Regions from separate parts of the Homo sapiens genome. Here region 1 is linked to region 2. Evidence: promoter capture Hi-C in human tissues and cell types (Jung and others, 2019). All regions are on one chromosome and are shown on one strand. The core of a region is centred on a gene start or on the middle of the fragment in contact, and the rest is flanking DNA. Distances in the headings are between cores, read along the strand shown.

Region 1 (4,345 bases), core at 1,580-4,079, 270 kb before region 2:
TGTACTCTTTCTTTTGGGTAAAGAATCTAGAGGTGAAATTGCTGGATTATAGGGTAAGGCCACTTTTTTTTTTTTTTGAGACAGACTTATGCTCTCATTGTCCAGGCATGCAATGGCATGATCTCAGCTCACTGCAACCTCCACCTCCCAGGTTCAAGTGATTCTCCTGCCTCAGCCTCCCGAGTAGCTGGGATTACAGGTGCCTGCCACCATGCCTGGCTAATTTTTTTGTATTTTTAGTACAGACGGGGTTTCAGCACGTTGGCCAGGCTAGACTCAAACTCCTGACCTCAGGTGATCCACCTGCCTCAGCCTCCCAAAGTGCTGGAATTATAGGCACGAGCCACTGCACCCGGCCAAGGCCAAATTTTTAAAAGTTTGTGATTTTTTTTTTTTTTTTGAGACGGAATTTTGCTCTTGTTGCCCAGGCTGGACTGCAATGGCGCAATCTCGGGTCACCACAACCTCCGCCTCCCGGGTTCAAGTGATTCTCCTGCCTCAGCCTCCCGAGTAGCTGGGATTACAGGCATGCACCATCATGCCCAACTAATTTTTGTATTTTTAGTACAGACGGGGTTTCTCCATGTTGGTCAGGCTGGTCTCAAACTCCCGACCTCAGGTAATCCACCTGCCTCGGCCTTCCAAAGTGCTGGGATTACAGGTGTGAGCCACCTCTCCCAGCCTGTGATTTTTTTTGATGAATGTGTTCTAGACATGGATCTGTGTCAGCACCTACAGACTGGCCTCAAGTTTTCAAAATGGCAGCATGGCATGCTATTATCTGGATATGGCATAATTTTTTAACACTTGTATTCTACTGCTGAGCATTTCTATTGTTTTCAATTGTTTGCTTATACAACTAATTTAAAAATTAATAAATAGCCTCATACATGTGTATTTGCATCCCTGTTGAAGCATTTTTCCAAGATAAATGATTAGAATGGAATACTGTATCAAAAAGTATGCTTGTTTGGATTTTTTGTTGCTGTTGTTAAATTTTCCTCCCACATTCAAGTATGCTAACAGTGTGGTAGTAGGCGGGCCTCCTCATCTTCTTGCCAATGTGGAATACTATTAATCCTGTTAGTTTTTGCAAAATGATGGTATCTCATGTAGCTTCAATATGCATTTCTTAGATCCGAGGTGAGGTTGAGAGACTTTTCATGTGTCAAAATGTGATATTTGAGAAATGCCAAAGAGATTAGAGTCCAAAAGAGAAGGGGAAGATAAAGCCCTTAGAGGAATAAAACGCTCACCTCTGGGGACAAAGCTCCAAAACCCCACAGCTCCTCTGACTCTAAAGGATGGGGCGGCTGTAGCAATAAGGGAGAGAGAGGGGCAACCTGCTTGGAATTCTACACACAATGTTTTGGGGCTGGCAAGCAGGACAGAACTCACCCCAGTGCAAACATGCAGATGTGCAGCACGTCCTCCCCGATGAAGTCCAGGTAAAATATTGCACCTGCAGCAGCAAATCATAGAAAATACCGCTGAGCTGTTTTCAAATCACCCATCTGCCAGTCTGTCTAGGATTTGGCTAAGCTCTCTTCCATTTAGGAAACTAAAATGATCAAAACTTATGACTGTGCCTTACAAGAAGAAAGGAATAAAAGCCATTTAGGGGATCAGGTTGTCAACTTTTTTCCACCTTAGACCCCTCTGATCTCCATGTTGTTTTTTAACTTTTATTGGGGGATAATATTAGACTCACAAAAATGGTGTAGAGTTCCCATGCACCCTTCCTCCAGCTTTCCCCAGTCATATCTTCCATAACCACAGTGCATAATCAAAGCAGGAAAACGACAATGAACACTTACTAACCAAACCACAGACCCTATTTACCAGTTTGTGCCTGCAGTCATCTCCCCTCCATCTTTCTTAAGATAGATAAACAAGGCTTTGTGCTTATGCTGTTAGAGCTTTCTAACCTCATGTGGCCAGTAGATCCCAAGTCTGTGGGTCTACTCCTGTGGTATGGGAGTGGGGTGGGCCTACTGCGCCTGCCCTGAGCCAGCCTTTGTCCAGAATCATCTCACCCACACAGGCCTCCAGCTGTATTCCTGAGCTCCTGATTCCCTGCCTTGACTTCTGTTCTCACTCAACCATGGTGTTTGTGATTCCTTTCAACCTTGACTGGACTTCACGCTTCTTGACCAAGCTTCTTGACCCTGACTTAGCTTATGGCTTCTGGCTGCTCTGGGTCAATGCCTCATGGCCCCTGGTGCTGCTCACAGCATGGGCCCTGGAAGCTGTGCGCCTCGTGTGTTCCTCCTGTGTAGACAGGAACTGCGGCACCACTTGTCTTAAGTGTTGGCAGAGCATAGGGCTTTACAGCCAGGCTTTCACCAAAGGAAAGCACTTAGTTCTTATTGGATTTTTTACTCTGAAGATTTTAGTCACCTATTATGCCATTTAAACAAATTAACAAACAGCTTTATATGATTGCAGCCTCTGAGGCCACTACAGAAAGAAAATGCAAAAAAAAATTAGAGGTGAAATAGAGGAAAAGGGGGCTGTAATGCTAATGATCACTTATTGAGCATTGATGATGTTGCAGTGCTATGCATATTCATAATCTCTAAAATTATACAGAAGAGATTTGTGGTCACTTAGCCAGTGGGGGTTGTGGAGCTAGAAGATAGCAAAACTTGTTAAAGTACACACAGTATGGCATAGGGCACATTTGGATCATACCCATTACAATTCTAGGAGCTAAGTGTTATCACTCCCATTTTATGAATGTGGAGCTGAGGCTCAGAGAGGTTAAGTGATGTTTGCAGAGCTGATGTGCGTCTGTGCTGGGATACAAACCCGGGTCTCTCTGTCTGGAAATCCTGCACATTCTCCATGAACCCATAAATCACTCTACGGGGAGAACAAGTCAGCAGAATCAGCCTCCCTCTGCCCTGGGATAATACCCTGCTGCTAAAGTAGAAGACAGAAATCTAGCAATGGGTCACCCTTACCTGCTGTGATAGCAATGGTTGTGGACAGAATGTAGCCCACACTGGCAATCAAAGAGGAGTCGTACATCTGTGAGGCTTGACTCAAAAACCTTCAACACAAAAGCACTCCAGTCAGTGGGCTGTGGAGACGTTGGAAAGGCTAAGAGCTGACAACAGTAGAGTTTGGTTTGAAATATGAAGATGATACATTTAGGAATGTTCCTTGGGTTTCTAAAAATGCCACCCTCATGTTACAGGACATTGTGTATCCCTAGTCTGGGGCCCATACTTGATTCCCACTCTTCCCCTAGACACACAGCTAAGGCCCATCCCCATTTCCCAATTGAACCATGCCATCATGGTCTCACACCTTTGGCTGCACGGCTCCTGTCACCTGAAATGCCCTTCTCCTCACCCCCCGTATCCCCACCCCACTAAAAAGAGCCATTCCTGCATCTCTTATACCCCTGCCCCCAGAAACTCTTACAGCACTAATCACGTTCTGCCTAGTGTCATAATTATTCTTTTAAACAAAATTTCTTTTTAATTTGAAAATAATGTGATCACTGAAATAAATACAGGAAAAAGAGAAAATTAGAGTCCTTCCTAATCACTCCATCTATGATAAACAATACCCTTGTTTTGGAAGATATTCTTTGCCCTTTCTCTGCATAGTTGCTTACACCATGCTCACCACTCAATTGCTTTTATTTTTTTACTTCGCTTTGTGGCCTAGGCTGGAGTGCAGTGGCAAAATGACAGCTCACCACAGCCTCTAACTACGGGGCTCAAATGCTCCTGCCTCAGCCTCCTGAGTAGCTGGGATTACAGGTGTGAGCCACTGCATGCAGCTTGGCTGTACTAGTTTCTTCACTGGCTGTCCCCCAGCCAGGGCCGTGAATGCCTGAGGGCAGTGAGTGACTACCCTCATCATCTCTGTGTGCTGAGCACCCTCAGTGGGCTGCACTGGCTAGGGAATGAGTAGCTCCTTAGGAGGTGGGCGGTGGCATCTGAGCCATGTTTGTGACACCTGGAGTGCTCAGCACAGGGCCTTTGACTGGCAGGGGCTTCCAGGTGATGACTGGAATTGTTGTAGTGGGACCAAAAATAATAACCAAAATAACAATAGCAAGGCCAATAATCATAGAAGCAGCTCATGTTTACCGGGCATTTCCCTAGAGACATTCTCATAAGAGCTTCATGTGATTCTCTTAGGTAGGGACTGTTGTTCTCATTAGCAGGTGAAGAATCTGTCTTGGAGAAGCTGAGTAGGCGACAGAAGAGCAGAGCAGTGAGGGCATGGGCTGGGGAGCCAGACACCTGGGTTCAGATCTCAGCTCCGCCACTTTCTAGCCTCTTACTCTCTCCGCATCAGTTCCTCGTATGCAAAATGGGGATAA
Region 2 (4,505 bases), core at 914-3,413:
AAAAATACACAAATTAGCTGGGCATGGTGGCTTACGCCTGTAGTCCCAGCTACTTGGCAGGCTGCGGCATGAGAATCGCTTGAACCAGTAGGTAGAGGTTGCAGTGAACCATGATCACGCTACTGCACTCCAGCCTGGGTGACAGAGTGAGACTCTTGTCAAAAAAAAAGAAAGCAAGAAAATAAGAAAGCAAGAAAGAAGGAAAGAGAGAGAAAAAAGAAGGAAGGAAGGAAGGAAGGAAGGAAGGAAGGAAGGAAAGAAAGAAAGAAAGAAAGAAAGAAAGAAAGAAAGAAAGAAAGAAAGAGAGAGAAAGGAAGGAAGGAAGGAGAAAAGAAAGTCAACAGTCAACATTTCAGAGATCCCAAGATACCAACACTGACCGTGCCTGCTGCTCTTCCATCCTCCTCCACCCTGCGCCTTTGAGGTGGAATTGCGTCCTCTGTGAGCAGGGCTTTGTTAAGAGATCCTAATTAAGGCCAGGCACAGTGGCTCATGCCTGTAATCCCAGCACTTTGGGAGGCTGAGGTCACCTGAGGTCAGGAGTTCAAGACCAGCCTGCCCAACATGGTGAAACCCCATCTCTACAAAAATTAGCTGAGCATGATGGCAGGTGCCTGTAATCCCAACTACTTGGGAGGCTGAAGTGAGAAAATAGCTTGAACCCAGGAGGCGGGGTTGCAGTGAGCCAAGATCACACTATTGCATTCCAGCCTGGGCGACAGAGCTTTTGTCTAAAAAAAAAAAAAGAAAAAAAATCCTGATTAAGCAGAAGCCTTGATGCTAGTCCCAGAAGCATCCTGAAATTTCCAAAAGAAATTTCCCCCGCGGTTAAACTCAGAGCAACTTTTGGACCCACCAAGCTCTGTGAAAATCATTTTCTCTTCCAAAAACTGATGGGACCAAAGCTGATCCCAGTTTCAAATAATTATCAAAAAATTGGAAACGAAATATGATCAGAAAAGAAGAAAGTTGAAAAAGAAAATCCTCATCACCCAAAGACAACAACCATTAATATTTTGGTAATTATTATTCCAAATATCTTTCTATGCATACAGACAGACTCACACACACACACACACACACACACACACACTTTTTTTTTTTTTTTTGAAACTGAGTTTCACTCTGTCGCCCAGGCTGGAGTGCAGTGGCGCGATCTCGGCTCACTGCAACCTCCGCCTCCTGGGTTCAAGCGATTCTCCTGCCTCAGCCTCCCTGATAGCTGGGATTACAGGTGAATGCCACCACGCCCGGCTGATTTTCTGTATTTTTAGTAGAGACGGGGTTTCACCATGTTGGCCAGGCTTGTCTCCAACTCCTGACCTCAGGCGATCCACCCGCCTCACCCTCCCAAAGTGCTGGGATTACAGGCGTGAGCCACCGCGCCCGGCTACACACACACTTTTTTAATGGGCCTATGTTTTAGCACTCGCTTTTCTGTTTCTCAGTGTGTTGCAAACACCTCGGTGTCGATACACACCATTCGGCAACGTCCTCCTAAAGGGCCGCATAATATTGCGCGTCGTGGCGTGTGCCTTACTGGGAAGCTACTGCTGTCCAGGTGAACACCACAGCCTTCGGGGTCAGAAAGACAGCTTTCCCCAGAACAAGCACCTGAAGCTCTGGGGCCTGCCGCTCCCCGGGAGAGAAGTACGTGGAGAAGGGCAGCACGGATCCGCCGGGATCCCCGGGGGCATTAAAGGGAATCGCGTGTGTAAGGCGCGGAGCTCAGCATCCGGCTCAGAAACGCGCTCGGATCCCGCCAATGGCATTGAGGCCGCGTAGCCAAACCGGCCTTGAACTCTCCCTAATCCTGCCAAAATGGCCCGTCCTGGAGCACTGGACTGGCCGTGGGTTATTGATCATCAGCCGGTTTCTTCCCCTCCCCTGCCCTTCCCCCGTGCACGGATTTACTGATTTTTTTTTCCGGGAATTGAGTAAAACAAAACTAAGTGCAGATGAAGCAGAGGTACGGGCGAGTTTCGAGCGCGGGGACCGGCGCGCTCCCCCCCCCCCCTCCCCCCGCGGCGGGGCTGTCCCCAGGGACCTTCTCAGTGAATCCTAGGCGGCAGGGACGGGCCCGCGGCTCTGCGGGCCATTGGCTGCCGACTGCGTCACCTGCCCGCGGTGGGCTAGGAGACGGGAGGCGGGAGGCGGGAGGCGGGGACCTGGGCCCGGGCGGGGACGCCGCGGCAGGAAGGCCATGGCGGGGCCCGAGCGCTGGGGCCCCCTGCTCCTGTGCCTGCTGCAGGCCGCTCCAGGTAAGGGCGCGGGGCCGCGGGAGGGAGGGGGAAGAGGGCTCCCCGGGCCGGGCCGCGCCTACCCTCGGACCCGGAGCTCCTGGGACAGGCACGGGGTCCGCAGCCACCCGAGCCGGGTGCGAATCGGCCCTGCCTACGCGCCCCCAGTTTGCTTCTTCCCAGGACTGAACAGAACCGGGTCTTTGATATTCCTCTCCCGCAGGAAACGAATCCAGTTTCCTAATGCTTCCAGCTTCAGGAGAACTGGAGAAAAAAGACAGCGGCAGTTTGATACTGCATATTTTTTAATAAAGTGCTTTTTAATGTTTCCTAAAGAAAGCACTGATCCCTGCGTGAAAACCACACTTGACCCTAAAGTGTGGACAGCAGGGAAAGTGGGACCGATTGATGTCCCTTCCCGTTCCTGCCAGGCCTCTGGTGGGACGGAGCTCTGGTCGCCTGTGCCCTGCTTTCTAACAAGACGGCTTTCTTTTGGTGGTGGTTGTTGTTTTGTTGTTGTTTTGTTGTTGTTGTTGTTGTTGTTGTTTTCCCACCTCTACTGATGAGTAAGGTGTCAGGTACAAAATTCCTCGCCGTAGGACCCAACCACCAAACCTCACCGCCCACGACTCCAACCGAAGCAGGGAAGAGAAGGTCCAGAAATCGCCCCCAGGATATTTTCCTAGTCTTGGACTCACAGTTTAAAGAGCTGTAAAGGTCCCTGGGCATAATCCAATCATCATAAAAGCCTATATTTATTCAGCAACTTCTTTGTGCCAGGCACCGCATTATTCTGGAAGCCTCACGACCCAGCCATCCTCGGAGGTAGATATTATTTTTACTTTTCCGATGGGAAAACTGAGGCTCAGAGCAATTCAGGGAATTCCTCAAGAAGGATGGCAGAGGTGAGGCACACAGAAGAGAGAAGAGGGGCTAAAGCAAGCCTGGCTAGCTTTTGCCTCCAGGGTAGGCACGTGGGACAGGCTGTCCATCCACTGGGTCACTAGGCCAGCCAGGGATGCTCCAGCCCCCAGTGCCCACAGCAGCGTTCTCTGTGGCTGATGAGGGACCGTGTACCTGTGTGTGGAGGGAGGGTGGGGTCTTCTGTTCCCCTTTCACTGTCAAACCCAGACCTTCTTGTACTTTCACCTGATAAGTATTTAATATACACAACACTAACTATGGTGTGATGATTTAGGAGTAAGTACAGCCAGATCTAAGTTCAAATACTGGCTCCCACACAAACTGACTGTGTAGCCTCAGGCAAGTTAGTTAGCATCTGTCTCTGAGCCTAGCGCCCTTTCCATGGAAGCAGAATGAATGACACCTACCCCATAGGGTGGTCTGTCCCAAGGGTGATTGAGGTTTTACATGTAAAGAGCCAAACTAGTGCCTGGCATCCTTTGAAGGCTTCATAGAGGAAAGTTGCTCTAACTGCTGTTTTTCTCATGTGACCTAGCTCGAATCTGGGGACTGTCCTGCCCATAGGATACCTTACAAGTGGCTTGCAGACAGCCTGGTCTCCTGCTGGTCACCCGTTAGGAAGTCCAGAAGCTGGGAGTAGTAATAGCACTAGCCTCGTGGTGATACAGTCCCAGCTAGAGGACACAGGATGAGGTGGAAGCAGGCACCCACTTTTGGGTCTAGAAGGTGATGGGTAGGCAGCCGAGGCTGGGGACAGCCATCCACAGAACTGGACCCTCCCTCCCTGATGCCATTTTGCAACCCGTATGGATTTCCATCATGGCACATGGGACACTTCAGGACCCTGAATTCTCCATGGGACCATGAGCTCCTATAGGGCAGGAATGAAGTTGTGTTCTTCTTTGAAACCCCTGGCACACCGTGGTCAACAGATCTTGTTTGACTCGTAGTGGTCAATAGATGGAATAGTTGGAATCATAAAGCTCAATAGACCCCATGAGAACCTAGAAGACAAAGTACAGTCAAGAGCTCGGACTTTGGAGTTGGCTAGGCCTGGACTGAATCTGATTCTACAACTTAATAGCTGAGAGGGCCTTGGTTTTCCCATCTGTAACGATTATAATTATTATAATGAATACCTACCTCCTAGGGATGTAATGAGGATTAAAAGAGAAAGTGCAGGTAAACTGTTTAGCACAGAACCTGGCTCACAGAACACAATACACATTAGCTGCTATTATTATTATTATTATTTTATTTATTTATTTTGAGACAGAGTCTCACTCTGTCACCCAGGCTGGAGTGCAGTGGCGCAATCTCGGCTCACTGCAACCTCCACCT

What was found. The method cuts DNA at HindIII sites, captures the fragments that hold promoters and counts their contacts. A contact is called where the count stands out against the background at its distance.
Region 1: a fragment that was not itself captured here is called in contact with the fragment with the promoter of IFNLR1 in region 2 in 1 of the 25 tissues and cell types used here (IMR-90 fibroblasts).

Annotation. Positions count from the first base shown.
Region 1 is chr1:24,457,598-24,461,942 of GRCh38, reverse strand. It overlaps NIPAL3 (NIPA like domain containing 3), which reads right to left. Exons shown (of 12, transcript NM_020448.5): 9 at 2,967-3,055; 10 at 1,399-1,462. Among named protein-coding and RNA genes, the nearest start is that of RCAN3AS, 43 kb to the left of the region's middle. RefSeq lists an enhancer at 3,833-4,334. The HindIII fragment of the contact is 5,272 bases long and covers 194-4,345 here.
Region 2 is chr1:24,184,947-24,189,451 of GRCh38, reverse strand. IFNLR1 (interferon lambda receptor 1) reads left to right here and starts at 2,163. Exons shown (of 7, transcript NM_170743.4): 1 at 2,163-2,261. The coding sequence starts at 2,204. RefSeq lists a silencer at 1,901-2,390. The HindIII fragment of the contact is 7,685 bases long and covers 1-4,505 here.